Regions from separate parts of the Homo sapiens genome. Here region 1 is linked to region 2. The links are contacts of gene promoters, found by promoter capture Hi-C in human tissues and cell types (Jung and others, 2019). All regions are on one chromosome and are shown on one strand. Each heading gives the region's core, a stretch centred on a gene start or on the middle of the fragment in contact. The rest is flanking DNA. Distances are from core to core; before and after follow the strand shown.

Region 1 (2,754 bases), core at 220-2,719, 290 kb after region 2:
TTTTTGTTTTTGTTTTTGCTTTGAGACGGAGTCTTACTCTATCACCCAGGCTAGAGTGCAGTGGCACAATCTTGGCTCACTACAACCTCCACCTCCTGGGTTCAAGCCATTCCCCTGCCTCAGCCTCCCCAGTAGCTGGGATTACAGGCACACACCACCATGCCCAGCTAATTTTAGTATTTTTAGTAGAGACAGGGTTTTACCATGTTAGCCAGGCTGGTCTCGAACTCCTGACCTTGTGATCCGCCCACCTCGGCCTCCTAAAGTGCTGGGATCACAGGCGTGAGCCACCACGCCTGGCCCACCATGGTTTTGTCTATGTATAAATGGAATTAGACAGCAGGGAAACTTTTGAGTCTGGCTTTCTTCGCTTAGTGTAATGCTTTAGAAATTCATCAAGTTCTGTGAATGAGTTGCTCTTTCTTTTCGTTGCTGTGTAGTATTCCATTGTACAGATAGATCCCAATTTGTTTATCCATTCACCTTTTGATGCATATTTGGGTTGAGTCCTGAGGATGGTTTTCAGTCACAGAAAAGACTATTTGGAAGTTTATTTCTGGAGTAAACAATTAGTTTCTATTTATTAAAGTTACTAGTTCAAAACACTACTAATTCTTTCTTAACCTTAAGATTCAACCTATTGGCCAGGCGTGGTGGCTCACACCTGTAATCCCAGCAATTTAGGCAGCCGAGACAGGAAGATTACTTGAGGCTAGGAGCTGGAGACCAGTATGGGCAACATATCAAGACCCCATGTCTACAAAAAATTAAAATTTAATAATAATAAAATATTTAAAAAGTATAAATAAAATTCAGCTTACAAACCTTGTTTGAAAATCTAGATTTTAGCAAATGCTTCTAAGGGGCTTTTTACAACTTTATATCTTCAAACGTAAATGAATAGGTTTGATTTTCTTTTTCAGTATCTCAGTGTGGAAGAAAAGTTAAATATTAAATTTGAACTCAACTGAACATGGACACAAACAATGGTCACCAAGTCCCTGAACAGGTTGTGTGAGCCCCTTGAGGCGTTCATCCAGCACTGTTTCGGAGGAATCTCTATTTCAATCTATTCCTATACATTAGTTATTGAAAAACAACACACAATCGCAAAAACAAGTTGACCTTTTTGTGTTCCTTGAGACCGATAATGAAGGGCCCTCGTGACCGGACCTCATGCCAAACAACTCGTTACAAAAAGAGCTAGGGTCCCAGCTGCGCTGAAGCTTCATGAGACCTCTCCTCATCTGTGCATGGATGAGTGGCCGACTCTGGAGCCCAGGCTGTTGCTTCCCAGTCTGGTGGTGAATCCTCCATAGTCTGGTGAGTGTAAATATGTGTATATCTCTTTTCCCTTCTCCCCTTCCCATTGCAATTTGCTTATTATGTCATTTACTTATATCAATTTGCTTATTATATTAATTTCCTTATTATATCATTTGCTTATTATATCTGCATTGCCATTTACGTGGGATAAAGCTTGTTTACCCTTAAAGGTATTGTGTGTGTGCCTTTTCTTCTCCCCTCACGCAGCTCCCGCGGCTCCCACACAGGACGCTCAGTTATCTGTATAAACAAAACCTTCCTGAAGATTTAAATCATTCTTATACATCAAGTAAATCCAAGTTATAAATAGGATGAATCTTAAGTTCTCTCAAAAATCTGTTTATCTAAAAAACTAGGGCTGGGCACTGTGACTCACACTTGTAATCCCAGGACTTTGGGAGGCTGAGGCTGATTGCCTGAGCCCAGGAGTTTGAGAACAGCCTGGGCAATATAGTGAGACCTCATCTCCACAAAAAATTTAAAAATTAGCCAGACATGGTTGCGCACGCCTGTGATCCTATCTACTCAGGAGGCTGAGGTGGGAGGATCACTTGAGCCGGGGAGGCAGAGGTTTCAGTGAGCTGAGATCCAGCTACTGCATTCCAGCCTGGGAAACAGAGTGAGACCCTGTCTCAAAAACAAAAACAGAAAACAAAACAAAAACCCTAAATGTATCTAGATTATTTCTTTGAACAGAAATATTAATGCTAAGGTTTTTTGTCTTTGTTTTTTATGAGAACGGGGTCTCACTCTGTAGCCCAGTCTGGAGTGCAGTAATGCAATCTCATCTCACTGCAACCTCTGCCTCCCGGGTTCAAGCGATTCTTCTGCCTCAGCCTCCTCAGTAACTGGGATTACAGGCACGCAGCACCACACCTGGGTAATTTTTGTATTTTTAGTAGAGACGTGGCTTCACCATGTTCGTCAGGCTGGTCTCGAACTCCTGACCACAAGAGTTCCGCCTGCCTCGGCCTCCCAAAGTGCTGCGATTACAGGCGTGAACCACCATGCCCGGCCAATGCTAAGATTTAAATTTTTGGTTTAGCATGCTAGTCTTAGTTCTAAATCTTCCTGAGGTTATGTTACATAAGTATCCTCATCAAGGACACTCTAAGGAAGAAAGTTCCATCACCGGTAACAGAGGTTAATTAATTTTTCATCTTCTAAGGTTACAGATGTGTTCCACAAAGAAAAAAAAGGCCGGGCACGGTGGCTCACGCCTGTAATCCCAGCACTTTGGGAGGCTGAGGTGGGCGGATCACGAGGTCAGGAGATCGCGACCATCCTGGCTAACACGGTGAAACACTGTCTCTACTAAAAATACAAAAAATTAGTCGGGCGTGGTGGTGGGCGCCTGTAGTCCCAGCTACTGGGGAGGCTGAGGCAGGAGAATGGCGTGAACCCGGGAGGCGGAGCTTGCAGTGAGCC
Region 2 (2,752 bases), core at 6-2,505:
CTCCTCTGGCCTAAATCTCAGACTGGCCGTATAGTTTAATTTTTTCTCTTCCACCAAAGGTCATCTGTGTAGAAGATGACACAAAGGGGGACCCAGCACGGTGACCCGTGCCTGTAATCCCTGCACTTTCGGAGGCTAAGGAGGGAGGATCATTTGAGCCCAGGAGTTCGAGGCTGCAGCGAGTCATGATCGAGCCACTGCACTCCAGCCTTGACGCTGAGTGAGACCCTGTCTCTTAACAAAATATATTTAAAATTTAAAAAGAAGATTATACAAAGGGGTTATCTATCATCTTGGCCAGCAATGCAGGGCAAAACTTGAAACAACTTGGTCCTGCAGTATTTTCCAGATGCCAAATCCTCATTCTCTACTGTACAGCTCCTACAGTGTTTTGTGTGAGATGAGAGGGAGCATGGCGGGTCTCAGCTGGCTTTGCCCTGGGAAAAATTCCTCATTTCTGCACCGCCTCCCCAAAGCGGGGGCTAAGCCAGCGCCGTCTGCCTCTCCACCTAGACCAGACCCCTTCCCTAGATGCTCTTATTTCCCTGAAGCCTCACAACAACCCTGTGAGGTAAGCATTACCATCCCTTCATTTTACAGATGAAACTGAAGCTCAGGAAGGTTACGTTTCGGGCTCTAAATCCCGGAATCTTCGCTTCGATGCCATCCAGGCTTGGGCCACTGAGCTCAAGAAACGGGCCGACGGGTGACCAGACGGACGCCGGGACCAGCCCAAGTTCAGGGCTGAGGGCCGCCAGGTGGCGCGTTTCCCTCCCCCTACCCCTCGCGGCGGCTCGGGCGCACCTGAACCCAGCGGGGTGCGCCGGGGAAAGTAGGCGCGCAGGGTGGGGCGGGGAGTAGCCCTAATTCCCCAGCTCGGAGTGGGCAAGGAGCACGGTTTAGCTCAGCCGGCTGGCACCGCCAAGCGGCCGCCGGGCCGCATCAGCCCTCCTCCTGTTTGCGCTCCCCAGCGTGCAATTTATTTGGGGGGCTACCGGGGATTGAACGGAGCGGGCGAGCGCTGCCAGGAGGTGGGGCCGGCCCCACCTGTCGACTGCCCGTAGTAGGCAGGGAGAGGGCGGGGTTTGTCCCATAGGGCCCGCCCCCCAGTCCCTGGGTCCCGGGCGCGCGACGAGATATAAGGCAGTCAGGAAACAATGCGCCTGCAGCTCGCGCTCCCGCGCCGATCCCGAGAGCGTCCGGGCCGCCGTGCGCGAGCGAGGGAGGGCGCGCGCGCGGGGGGGGCGCGCTTGTGAGTGCGGGCCGCGCTCTCGGCGGCGCGCATGTGCGTGTGTGCTGGCTGCCGGGCTGCCCCGAGCCGGCGGGGAGCCGGTCCGCTCCAGGTGGCGGGCGGCTGGAGCGAGGTGAGGCTGCGGGTGGCCAGGGCACGGGCGCGGGTCCCGCGGTGCGGGCTGGCTGCAGGCTGCCTTCTGGGCACGGCGCGCCCCCGCCCGGCCCCGCCGGGCCCTGGGAGCTGCGCTCCGGGCGGCGCTGGCAAAGTTTGCTTTGAACTCGCTGCCCACAGTCGGGTCCGCGCGCTGCGATTGGCTTCCCCTACCACTCTGACCCGGGGCCCGGCTTCCCGGGACGCGAGGACTGGGCGCAGGCTGCAAGCTGGTGGGGTTGGGGAGGAACGAGAGCCCGGCAGCCGACTGTGCCGAGGGACCCGGGGACACCTCCTTCGCCCGGCCGGCACCCGGTCAGCACGTCCCCCCTTCCCTCCCGCAGGGAGCGGACATGGACTACGACTCGTACCAGCACTATTTCTACGACTATGACTGCGGGGAGGATTTCTACCGCTCCACGGCGCCCAGCGAGGACATCTGGAAGAAATTCGAGCTGGTGCCATCGCCCCCCACGTCGCCGCCCTGGGGCTTGGGTCCCGGCGCAGGGGACCCGGCCCCCGGGATTGGTCCCCCGGAGCCGTGGCCCGGAGGGTGCACCGGAGACGAAGCGGAATCCCGGGGCCACTCGAAAGGCTGGGGCAGGAACTACGCCTCCATCATACGCCGTGACTGCATGTGGAGCGGCTTCTCGGCCCGGGAACGGCTGGAGAGAGCTGTGAGCGACCGGCTCGCTCCTGGCGCGCCCCGGGGGAACCCGCCCAAGGCGTCCGCCGCCCCGGACTGCACTCCCAGCCTCGAAGCCGGCAACCCGGCGCCCGCCGCCCCCTGTCCGCTGGGCGAACCCAAGACCCAGGCCTGCTCCGGGTCCGAGAGCCCAAGCGACTCGGGTAAGGACCTCCCCGAGCCATCCAAGAGGGGGCCACCCCATGGGTGGCCAAAGCTCTGCCCCTGCCTGAGGTCAGGCATTGGCTCTTCTCAAGCTCTTGGGCCATCTCCGCCTCTCTTTGGCTGAAGCTGCCCGTGTAGTCCCCAACCGTGTCTGTCTGGCACGTGGGTGTGTTGGTAAACAGTTTGGAAAAGTGGCGTGGGAGCCAGCCTCCCTTTGATGATTATTGGAGCCCCAGGGGACAAGGGATTTGAGGTGAGGGTTGGCGCTTAGAGAGGACAATACTGGGGTTGGACTGTAAGGGATTGAAGGGGGTACCTTAAGAGACACTCCAAACCTGAAGTTTTTTTGCTGCTGCCTCTTTCCCTAGGAAACTCACACTCCCCTAGGGGGAGAAGAAGCCGAGAGCCTTTTGTGCAAAGCCAAAACCTTCGTCCTTTTAAAAACCTAGGTCTCCAGTTGGCTTTACTTTAAAATGCCAATAATAAATGCCCTCTTCTCGTGCCTCCCCACCACCACT

What was found. The method cuts DNA at HindIII sites, captures the fragments that hold promoters and counts their contacts. A contact is called where the count stands out against the background at its distance.
Region 1: a contact is called between a fragment that was not itself captured here and the fragment with the promoter of MYCL in region 2, in 1 of the 25 tissues and cell types used here (lymphoblastoid cells).

Annotation. Positions count from the first base shown.
Region 1 is chr1:39,612,374-39,615,127 of GRCh38, reverse strand. No RefSeq gene overlaps it. Among named protein-coding and RNA genes, the nearest start is that of HEYL, 26 kb to the left of the region's middle. RefSeq lists an enhancer at 1,470-1,639. The HindIII fragment of the contact is 4,795 bases long and covers 1-2,754 here.
Region 2 is chr1:39,900,420-39,903,171 of GRCh38, reverse strand. MYCL (MYCL proto-oncogene, bHLH transcription factor) reads left to right here and starts at 1,255. Exons shown (of 2, transcript NM_001033081.3): 1 at 1,255-2,233. The coding sequence starts at 1,738. RefSeq lists silencers at 682-891, 1,152-1,471, 1,882-2,001. The HindIII fragment of the contact is 12,166 bases long and covers 1-2,752 here.